Linked DNA regions of Homo sapiens: regions 1 and 3 are each linked to region 2. Evidence: promoter capture Hi-C in 16 types of primary human blood cells and fetal thymus (Javierre and others, 2016). All regions are on one chromosome and are shown on one strand. The core of a region is centred on a gene start or on the middle of the fragment in contact, and the rest is flanking DNA. Distances in the headings are between cores, read along the strand shown.

The links. The method cuts DNA at HindIII sites, captures the fragments that hold promoters and counts their contacts. A CHiCAGO score of 5 or more calls a contact.
Region 1: a fragment that was not itself captured here is called in contact with the fragment with the promoter of PMEL in region 2 in 1 of 17 cell types (M2 macrophages); the score reaches 5.4 in M2 macrophages.
Region 3: the fragment with the promoter of CNPY2 here is called in contact with the fragment with the promoter of PMEL in region 2 in 4 of 17 cell types (fetal thymus, naive CD8 T cells, non-activated CD4 T cells and 1 more); the score reaches 5.8 in fetal thymus.

What each region holds. Positions count from the first base shown.
Region 1 is chr12:55,673,953-55,677,543 of GRCh38, forward strand. No RefSeq gene overlaps it. Among named protein-coding and RNA genes, the nearest start is that of TMT1B, 6.0 kb to the right of the region's middle. The HindIII fragment of the contact is 3,457 bases long and covers 1-2,995 here.
Region 2 is chr12:55,964,414-55,968,191 of GRCh38, forward strand. It overlaps PMEL (premelanosome protein), which reads right to left and starts at 1,629. Exons shown (of 11, transcript NM_001384361.1): 1 at 1,523-1,629. The coding sequence starts at 1,598. CDK2 (cyclin dependent kinase 2) reads left to right here and starts at 2,417. Exons shown (of 7, transcript NM_001798.5): 1 at 2,417-2,711; 2 at 3,444-3,521; 3 at 3,636-3,756. The coding sequence starts at 2,596. RefSeq lists an enhancer at 2,108-2,187. The HindIII fragment of the contact is 16,386 bases long and covers 1-3,778 here.
Region 3 is chr12:56,313,783-56,317,532 of GRCh38, forward strand. CNPY2 (canopy FGF signaling regulator 2) reads right to left here and starts at 2,206. Exons shown (of 6, transcript NM_014255.7): 1 at 2,039-2,206; 2 at 1,348-1,460; 3 at 1,069-1,184. The coding sequence starts at 1,435. It overlaps PAN2 (poly(A) specific ribonuclease subunit PAN2), which reads right to left. Exons shown (of 26, transcript NM_014871.6): 26 at 3,154-3,750. It overlaps CNPY2-AS1 (CNPY2 antisense RNA 1), which reads left to right. Exons shown (of 2, transcript XR_002957416.2): 2 at 747-1,026. RefSeq lists enhancers at 2,191-2,779, 2,280-2,329, 2,410-2,559. The HindIII fragment of the contact is 5,570 bases long and covers 1-3,307 here.

The sequences.
Region 1 (3,591 bases), core at 17-2,516, 290 kb before region 2:
GTAAGGAGTTCAGATTTTGTACCAAAGATAATGGGAATCCACTAAAAGGTTTTAAGCAGTGGGTGAAAGTGGAGAGACAGTTAATGAGGCCCTTGCAGTGGGCCAGGCAGCGGAGGGTCATGATCTGGTCTAGGGTTATGCCAGTGGAGATGAAAGAAATGCATGAAATTAATGAACTGGGAAATAGAGCTGACAGGACTTGTGAGTAACTTGAAAGTTATATATATATTGGCCGGGCGCGGTGGCTCACACCTGTAATCCCAGCACTTTTGGAGGCCAAGGCAGGCAGATCACGAGGTCAAGAGATCGAGACCATCCTGGTCAACATGGTGAAACCCTGTCTCTACTAAAAATACAAAAATTAGCTGGGTGTGGTGGTGCGTGCCTGTAGTCCCAGCTACTCAGGAGGCTGAGGCAGGAGAATTGCTTGAACCCAGGAGGCGGAGGTTGCAGTGAGCCGAGATCGCCCCACTGCACTCCAGCCTAGCAAAAGAGCGGGACTCTGCCTCAAAAAAAAAGAAAAGAAAAGAAAGTCATATATATGTTATAGAGAGATACAGATGGAGATGAAATGACATGATGTTTGGGATTTGCTTCAAAATGACACACAGGAGAAGGAAGCAGAAAGTAGAAAAGGATGTGGATGGGGAAGGATTGGCTGTGGGTTGATAGTTGTTGGGATGAATGATGTATACATGGGGGTATCTTATACTGTTCTGCCAACTTTTGTGTATATTCAAAATTCTCCATTATACAAAGTTAGAAATGAGAAAAGAAAAGGAGGAGACAGAGAAGAAATAGAATAAATCCTAGGTTTTTGGTTGAGCAATCAAGAAGCTAATGGTGCCATTCACTGAGATGATGAAGAAGATGGGCAGAGTAAGACAAGAGACTTGGGGAGTACCGTAAGTGTCATTTTGGACATGTTAAGTTTTATATGTCCAGAAGATATGCTGAGGAGGAGGATCAAGTACACAACTGGGTATACAAATTTGAAACTCAAAGGAAGGATCTGCACTAAAGATATAAATGTGTGAATAATTTGCATATACATGGCATTTTAAACCATGAAAATGGATGGGATTTGGTGAAAATTATGTGTCAATGTAGGTTCATCAATTGTAATAAATGTCCACTCTGGTGGGGGATACTGATAATGAGGAAGGCTAGTCATGTGTGAGGACAAAGGGTATGTGGAAAATCTCTGTACTTTCCTCAACTTTTCTATGAAGCTAAAACTGCTCTAAAAAATAAAGTCTATATTAAAAAAAAAAAGATGAGGTTATTTAATGAGAGAATTTAGACAGAGAAAGACCCAAGACTAAACCCAAAGAAACAAAATTTAAAGGTCGAGTAGATGAGAAAGATCTAAAAAAAGAAGTTTCTAAGAAGTAACAGCCACGGGAATGTTATAGAAACAAGAAGACTGTTATGTTAGGACAGCCTAGATGAGAGAATTTTTCAAGAAGAAATAGTAGCCAACTATTTCTGAAGCTGTTGAAAAGTCAGATAAGATGAGAACAGGGAATATTCACTGGACCTGGCATGTGGAAATAATTAATAGGCTTGATAATAATAGTTTCGGGTTTCTTTGTTTTGTTTTGTTTTGTTTTTAGAGACAGGGTCTCTCTCTGTCTCCCAGGCTGGAGTACACTGACCCAGTCATGGTTCACTGTAACCCTGAACTTGCAGGCTCAAGCAATCCCCTTGCCTCTGCCTCCTAAGTAGCTGGGGCTACAGGCGCATGCCACCACACCCGGCTAATTGGCTAATTTTTTTATTTTTTGTAGAGAAAAACAACAGCCTATGTTGCCCAAGCTGGTCTCAAACTCCTGGGCTCAAGCAGTCATTTCCTCTCGGCCTCCCAAAGTACTTGGATTACAGGCACGAGCCACCACGCCCGCCCAAAGTCATAATTCTTGAGTCATCTGCTCGTGTTATCTTGGTTTCCTCACCTTCCATTCACTCTTTCTCCCACTCCAATCCATCACTAATAAAAATTTCTTGGGCTTGGCACAGTAGCTCACGCCTGTAATCCCAGCACTTTGGGAGACCAAGACAGGAGGATGGCTTGAGGCCAGGAGTTCAAGATCAGCCTGGGCAACCCTGAGAGATACCCTGTCTCTACAAAAATTTTTAAAAGTTAGTAGGCATGGTGGTATGCACCTATAGTCCTAGCTACTCAAGAGGCTGAAGCAGGAAGGGCAGCACAACCCCAGGAGTTTGAGGCTGCAGTGAGTCAGAATGGTGCACTCCAGCCTAGGCAACAGAGCAAGATCCTGCCAAAAAAAAAAGACTTTGACATAGATTTGTAAAATGGAGTTTTAGCTAAAGTGACATGTGGTGTCAAGAGGGTCAGTTTATTATTAACCTGAAATATATTAGAGCATATTCATATTTTGAAAGATCCATGGAAAGGCAGAGATTAATGATTTAGGAGAAAGAAAGATAAAATGAAGACAAGAATTCATAGCAGCATTGTTTATAGTACCCCAAAAGTGGAAACAACCCAAATGTCTATCAACTGTTGAATAAATAAACAAAATGTGGCATATCTGTACAATGCAATGCTACTTGGACGTAAAAGGAATGAAGTATTGATACATGCTACAACATGTGTAAACTTTGGAAGCATTATGCTGTGTGAAAAGCCAGTCACATAGGCCACATGTAGTATGATTCCAATTACATGAAATGTCAAGAATAAGTAAATCCATACAGACATAAGTAGAGTAGTGATTGCCTACGGAAAGGAAATTGATGGTACTGGGGTTGGGATGGGGATGGGGGAAATGGGAGTAAGTGGTAAAAGCACAAGTTTCTTTTGGGGTAACGAAAATGTTCTAAAATTGATTGTGGTGGCTGGTTGCACAACTCTGAATATACAGTCACATGTTAAGTCATATGTTGCTTAACAACAGGAATAAGTTCCGAGAAATGCATCGTTAGGTGATTTTACCATTACGGGAACATCATCATAGAGTGTCCTTACACAAGCTTGGATGGTGTAGCCTACTATACAGCTAGGCTATATGGCGTAACCTATTGCTCCTAGGCTGCAAGCCTGTACAGCATGTTACTGTACTCAATACTATAGGCAATTGTAACACCATGTTAAGTATTTATGTATCTAAACGTGGAAAAGGTGTGGTAAAAAATACAGTATAAAAGATTTAAAAACGGCATACCTATATAGGGCACATATCATGAATGGACTTTGCAGGACAAGAAGTTGCTCTGGGTGAGTCAGTGAGTGACTACACTAAATTTATTTACATTTTTTTTTTCTTTTCTTCAATAATAAACTAGCCTTAGCTTACTGCAACTTTTTTACTTTATAAACTTTTTAATTTTTTTAACTTTGACTCTTGTAATAACACTTAGCTTAAAACATAAATATTCTACAGCTGTACAAAAATATTTTATTTCTTTATATCCTTATTCTATAAGCTTTTTCTATTTTTTAAATTTTTTTAACTTTTTTGTTAAAAGCTAAGACACAAAGACACACATTAGCCTAGGTCTACACAAGGTCAGGATCATCAAGACATCACTACAGGACAGGGATTTTTCAGCTACATAATAATCTTA
Region 2 (3,778 bases), core at 379-2,878:
TCTCGCAAAGTGCTGGGATTACAGGCGTGAGCCACCAAGCCTGGCCTAGGCCTGGCTAATTTTTTTACGTTTCGTAGAGACAAGGTCTCACTATGTTGCTCAGGCTGGTCTTGAACTCCTGGGCTCAAGCAATCCTATGACCACGGCCTCCCAAAGTGCTGGGATTACAGGTGTGAGCCACTACACCCGGCCTCCTTATCTCTTTTCTTTTCTTTTCTTTTTTTATTTTTTTGAGACAGAGTCTTGCTGTTGCCCAGGCTGGAATGCAATGGTGTGATCTCGGCTCACTGCAACCTCTGCCTCCCAGGTTCAAGCGATTCTCATGCCTCGGCCTCCCAAGTAGTTGGGATTACAGGTGCGTACCACCATGCCCAGCTAATTTTTGTATTTTTAGTAGAGATGGAGTTTCACCATATTGGCCAGGCTGGTCTGACCTCAAGTGATCCACCCGTCTCAGCCTCTCAAAGTGCTAGGATTACAGGCATGAGTTACTGTGCCGGGCCTCATCCCCTTTCTTTTTTTTTTTTTTTTTGAGACGGAGACTCGCTCTGTCACCCAGGCTGGAGTGCATTGGTGTGATCTTGGCTCACTGCAACCTCTGCCTTCTGGGTTCAAGTGATTCTCCAGCCTCAGCCTTCTGAGTAGCTGGGACTACAGGCATGTGCCACCATGCCCAGCTAATTTTTGTACTTTTAGTAGAGACGGGGGTTTCACCATATTGGCCAGGCTGGTCTCGAACTCCTGACCTCGTGATCCACCTGCTTCAGCCTCCCAAAGTGCTGGGATTACAGGCGTGAGCCACGGCGCCCGGCCTCATTCCCTTTCTAATGTGTGCTGTAACCCTAGTTGATTCTGCTGGGGGAGGATCTGGAATCATCTATTGAGCATCCCACCACTAGAACAAGAGAAGTCATAAGATACCCCATTCTTTCTCCACTTCCAACTCTCCTCAGAGCAGCACGGGACATTCCAGACCCTCTCACCACCCCACCCCCGCCCCTTGCTCCTGTCACGAGGCCCAATCCCCCAGAGCCCTTTCATGTGATGCTCAGCTGAGACCCCTCTGCCTATCTCTCCAGCCCCAGAACAAAAGGTCTGGGCTGTGTTCACCCGTACCCATCCCAAGAGGAGAGGATTGTATCTCCTTAGTGTTCTTACCCAATACCACATTCTCTGACTCCCCACTTTAAATCTCCTACCCCAAGAGACGTTTCCTAAAAGAGTCTCCTGCACATTTCACCCCTTTGGAGCCCGTGCTCCAGCTCACTGCCAAGGAAGCCTCAGAATCAGTGCCACAGAGACCTTCTATCCTTCTGCCCCTCCAAGCATATGAGATTATTTTCAGGCAAAATCCCAAATCTCCATGTAGGGAGGGAGCCCAGGTGCCCACATCCTCACTAAATCAAATGAGTGGGAGACGCCTGAAATATTGCCGCTATCTCCCATTAGGAGGACAGAAACCAGAGCAGGGGGAATTCATCCCCAAGTTCACACCTGCTCATGTCCACATATCCACACATACCTTTTGTAGCCCCCACAGCCAGCAAAGCACCTATCACAGCCAAATGAAGAAGGCATCTTTTTAGCACCAGATCCATTGTGTTCTTCCCTCCAGCAACCAAAGGCACTGGGGGGACTGGGATAGGCCCCTATATAAGAAAAGGGTGCTCATTTGCATAGCCCTTCCTCTTCTCCCTCAGAGAAGGCCTGGGAGGGGCCGGAGGAGAGGAAAAAGGAAAAACTGACAAAGGGATCCTGGTCCCTAGACATTGCTTTCCCATCCTGCTACTCAATGACAGTTTCTGGTTTCACTGGGTCACTCTCATCTTGATGCACTCCCGGGCAAGAGCTAACTGAAAGGCAGCTGCGTAACACATACCAGACACAACAGTTTATCATGGGAGAGTGAATTAAACCAGGAACTTCTCAAAAAGACAGAAACAGAACCCTGCATCCCAAAACAGAGACAGTGTCGGGGTATGCTATGAGGCAGAGGCAACGACTCCTCTGAGGCCCAGGATTCCTTTGCAACGAGATTCCCGGCTTCCTGGTTTCCAAAGGAGGCTCCTGGGCCAGGTGGAATTTAACCTTAGGTCGATACATATTTTCCCCAGGATTGGTGAAAATAGTGAGTTAGAAATCAAGAAATCCCTACAGACTAGAGACATAGGTAGGAAACTTGGACCCAAAGCAGGTACTTGGGAAGAGTGTTCAGCCGCCCCACCGGGGAAGAAACTTGTCTAGCCCCCAAGAACCAAACTTGCCTGGGGCGGGATCATTTGCGGGGAGGAGCGCTGGGCTCGCCCCCCGGCTCTGACGTTGACCAATAGAAAGGCCTGGGGGCGGAGCCAGGGAAACGCGGGAAGCAGGGGCGGGGCCTCTGGTGGCGGTCGGGAACTCGGTGGGAGGCGGCAACATTGTTTCAAGTTGGCCAAATTGACAAGAGCGAGAGGTATACTGCGTTCCATCCCGACCCGGGGCCACGGTACTGGGCCCTGTTTCCCCCTCCTCGGCCCCCGAGAGCCAGGGTCCGCCTTCTGCAGGGTTCCCAGGCCCCCGCTCCAGGGCCGGGCTGACCCGACTCGCTGGCGCTTCATGGAGAACTTCCAAAAGGTGGAAAAGATCGGAGAGGGCACGTACGGAGTTGTGTACAAAGCCAGAAACAAGTTGACGGGAGAGGTGGTGGCGCTTAAGAAAATCCGCCTGGACACGTGAGTGGCCTCTGTACCCGGGACTCCTAACTGGGGACCTCCTTGATTGTCCCCCCCAACCCCCCACGGGCGGGTAGCCGTCCAGGGACCGGAAGAGAGCAGGGAGGGACTTCTTTAGAAGTGGAGAGGTGGGTTGGGGGCCAGTAGAAGGTGAAGAGTATACTTATACTCCCTGGGGAGAGTATAGGGTGGTGTGGAATCCATGGAAAACTTTCTTCCCAAACTGAGCCGGATCGTGCCCCCAAATGTGCGACTACAGACTCGGGGAGAGAAAGGAGGTCTCTGAGATGAGGTCCAAGACTCTCCATGGAGTGGAGTTATGTGGGAACCGGCGAGAATCGCCTTTCTGAATGAAGAGCCCTCTTCACTGCCCCACCCTCACCTTAGAATTCTCTCCTCTTTCCAAAGAATGGCAGTTGAACCTCACTGGCCCCTCTGGGGAGGCTGGGGGCTACTCCTGCATTTTTTCCCCTCCATTACAGTCTCCCTGCTTCACCTTCACCAGGCGGCTTTACTTACCTACCCCTGGGAAAAGAGGAGATAATGGCCTTAATATATCCAAAAACCACACCCTGACTACCCAAGAATTAGCTCTTACCATCACCCTTTCTCTTCTCTCACTTTCCTAGGGGGTGCTGGGTGGTGTCTCCTTGGGGGAAAGAAATGACTAGGTGGGGGGGAAAGGAATATTTGTAACCATATTCCCATCTCTGCTTTCCCAACCTCTCCAAGTGAGACTGAGGGTGTGCCCAGTACTGCCATCCGAGAGATCTCTCTGCTTAAGGAGCTTAACCATCCTAATATTGTCAAGTAAGTATGCGTCTGAGAGGTGATCCAGCTGGAAAGGAGGATAAGTTCTGTCTGTACAGTGTGGGCATTTCTCTCTCTCACACACCTCCATTTCCTCAAACTTTCCTTCTCTAGGCTGCTGGATGTCATTCACACAGAAAATAAACTCTACCTGGTTTTTGAATTTCTGCACCAAGATCTCAAGAAATTCATGGATGCCTCTGCTCTCACTGGCATTCCTCTTCCCCTCATCAAGGTAATGCTTCTCATCAGCTCCT
Region 3 (3,750 bases), core at 956-3,455, 350 kb after region 2:
TTTTTAGTAGAGACGGGGTTTCACCATGTTAGCCAGGATGGTTTCGATCTCCTGACCTTGTGATCTGCCCACCTCAGCCTCCCAAAGTGCTGGCATTACGGGCGTGAGCCACCGCGCCCGGCCTTTTTTTTTTTTCAAGACAGAGTTTTGTTCTTGTCAACCAGACTGGAGTGCAGTGGTGCGATCTTGGCTCACTGCAACCTCTGCCTCCTGGGTTCAAGTGATTCTCCTGCCTCAGCCTCCTGAGTAGCTGGGACTATAGGCATGAGCCACCACGCCTGGCTACTTTTTTGTATTTTTAGTAGAGACGGAGTTTCACCATGTTGGCCAGGCTGGTCTCGAACTTCTAACCTCAGGTGATCCGCCTGCCTTGGCCTCCCAAAGTGCTGGGTTTTGGTTTTTTTTTGAGACAGGGTCTTGCTGTGTTTCCCAGGCTGGAGTGCAGTGGCACAATCACGGCTTACTGCAGCCTCGACCTCCTGGGCTCAAGTGATCCTCCCACCTCAGCCTTCCAAGCAGCTGTCACTACAGGCACATGCCACCATGCACTGCTAACTTTTGCATTTTTTTGTAGAGTTGGTGTTTTGCCATGATGCCCAGGCTAGCACTGTAATCTTAACACTGCCTTATATATTGCTTATTAGATACACCTTTGTGTACATGTGTGTTGTTTTCGATTAAAATTTCCTAATTATGAGGATAAGACCTTTTATTCTTATTTCTGTTTTTTCATTTTTTATTTTTAGCTCCGACTCAGATTTTGAACGGATGTTTGCATGTATACCACAGTGCTACATTAAAAACCAGTCATGTGGATGTGGAGAAGGGTGCTGATCAGGACTCCCTGTTTGCTAACAAATTCTACAGCAGAAACAAAGTATTAAGGTTTGCAGCCAGGAAGCAAGTGCATGGGGAATAAGCCTGCAGCTTCTTCCAAATGAGACAGAGCCAAATCTTTTTTCTGAGTCTGTTTTCTTCATTTCTATTAAACCAAGGTCCTTTTTAAGCAGTCGAATTTCATCCAAAGCCAGAGTGAGCTACTTTGTTTGGGGGAACAGTAACAGTTACCTCCACCACTGACTGGCTGCCATCTGGATTGATCCGGAAAGATCCCATCTGAATGGTCTTCTTGGGGTCCACCTGGGCAATTTCCCATTCTAGTTCATCCACCAGAGCCCTGCATGCTGGTGGAAGAGGAGAGAATGAGAGCAGGGGACAGGGTAGGGGGTAGGGTGTGAGGAGAATGGGATCAACCCAGGATTTCCATTCATCCTTCTCCCAGGCCTTGGATCTCATGCCCTCCCAAGGCTCTGCTTCCTCCACTTCTTTTTCCCGTTGTGCCTTTACCTCCACAGTGGAGATCCTGGCTCCTCCGAGCCCAGGCGGTTCCCAGCAGGGCCCCCAGAAGCAGGGCCAGCCAACCCCAGCCTTTCATCTTTAGCGTAATGGGGTCGCTCCACCTGGGTTTGAGTGGGAATAAAACATAAGTGTGAGGAGCCGACTCCATTTTTCCCTGACCCCCCCAATCCTCACCCCAAGGCTTTCAAAGGCCTCATTGTGACTCTGGCTCTACTTTCCAGGAAATGGCCGGGACACAAAGGGGCTTCTCTGTTCCAGCGCTTGAGGGCTCTGATTCCCCCAGGGTGGTGGGTGGGAGCGCGAGCTCAGGACTTGCGGCTCAGCCCCAGACTCTACGTGGATAGGTGAGGCCCTAAGTGTTGGTACTTTAGCACTGCATGCCTAGGGTTCACGGGGCTTTGTGGCAGCTACAGGAGGTAAGTTGGCGATTACGTGAGGACTACAGGCACTAGGGAACTGCCGGCAGGGAGCCCTCAGTCAGGCCAGGAGGCCAGCGAGGAGAGCAATAACTAGGGCCCATTTGGATCCTGCACCGAAGATTCCTGCGTCCCCACCTCCAGCCCGTAAGTGATTACCCGTACGGACACCAGCCCCCTTTCTAAGGACTCCGCCATTGCTTTCGCTTCAGTCCATCCCCAACCCTCAGCGCCCAGCGCCTCGCCGCCCGCATCCGTCCCACCTCTGCTCCCAGGGCCGCCGCCGTGGCCCAAGCGCTGGAAGACCGCTGGACTCTCACTTTGGCCCCAGTGGCTCCCGAAACTACACCTGGCTGCAGGGAGCAGGGCTGTCCGGGATTCTCCAGAGCGCTTCGCCGCCTGCCACACACGGGGTGTCCCGGCGACCGCCTGACCCAGCTCCCCTGACGCTAACTGGTACCTAAGCGGGACTCCAGCGTGCTGCGGTGCGAGCCCCAATCAGACACCGACCCCAAACCCGCCCCTCCAAACTCTCGCGCGAACAGGCAGCTTAGGAGAGGCTCCCGAACAGCAAGGACCCCGGTCAATCGCCGAAGGACCCAGACTTGCGTGGCGAACAGATCCACGTGACCACCAGGGGTCAGCCGTAGAATAGGAGTGGCCTTAAGCGACGACAGAGTCCGGGCGTGCTGTATGGGAGCGGCTAGTCGTGCGCGTGAGCCAGCCCAGGTGGGCTAGGACCTTCAAAACGGTGCGCTGCCGGCCAGCGAGCAGTCCAGGTTTCAATACACAGGAAACTACATCTCCCAGGAAGCACCGCAGCACCGGACCCATCTTTGTGAGCAACTACAAGTCTCAAGCTATCCTGGGACCTGTAGTTTGTCGGCTTACACAATTAACGGAAACCATACTGTACATCTTCAGTCTGACTTAGGGTACTGGGCAGCTATAGCAAAGACCCAGCATTGCCCAGAAAAGGCATAAATTATACCTTTTTCCCCTTTTTTTGAGACGGAGTCTCGCCCTATCGCCCAGGCTGGCATACAGTGGCGTGATCTCGGCTCACTGCAACCTCCGCCTCCCGGGTTGAAGCAATTTTCTGCCTCAGCTAGGGTTACAGTCGCCATCCACCACTCCCAGCTAATTTTTGTATTTTTAGTAGAGACGGGGTTTCACCATCTTGGTCAGGCTGGTCTTTAACTCCTGACCTCGTGTTCCACCCACCTCTGCCTCCCAAAGTGCTAGGATTACAGAAGTGAGCCACCGCGCCCGGCCTAATTATACCCTTTCATATCCATAACTTTGGATTCCGGACCTTTACCTTCAAAGGAAGGAGAGGAAGACTGAAGCCAGAGAACCCACACTAGCAGTTCTCTAATGAGATAAATAACAAACGATATTTTATTTTTATTTTATAAAACATGCAGTTTACAACAAATTTTTAAAAAATGGAACAAAACTTGGGACAGGCAAGTGGGATGGAAGACAGATGCTTCTCAGCCATCAGCAGGAATAAATGAAGCCGGCAGCCAAGCTTTGTCCAGGATCCAAAGGCCCTTTTGGCAATGGTATTGGCAACACTGGTTTGCTTGGGCCACCAACACTCTACTTGCTGGCCCCTCCAGGTATCCCTGAAGCAGTTGGTGACTTGTGCTAAGTCTTGAACTACTGTGGTATCCTCTGTCACTGTCCAGGACTTCAATCCCTAGCCAGCTAGGAACTTACAGTTATGGTTCCAGGAGCTTCTCTGCCTGGATATTAGTCACCCAGGATATTAAGAATACCAATTACTTTCCATCTGGGTCAATTCTAGACTCCATGTCTGTACCACTGTTTTGCAAAGAATGAAGAAGGAATGAATCTGGCTCCTAGAACCTTTGCAACAATTCTGCTGTGTTCCAGTTCAATTAATAGCACCATCTGTGACCCTAGACCCTGAGCACGTCCAGTACTGGAAGTGGACAAGGTATAGCCA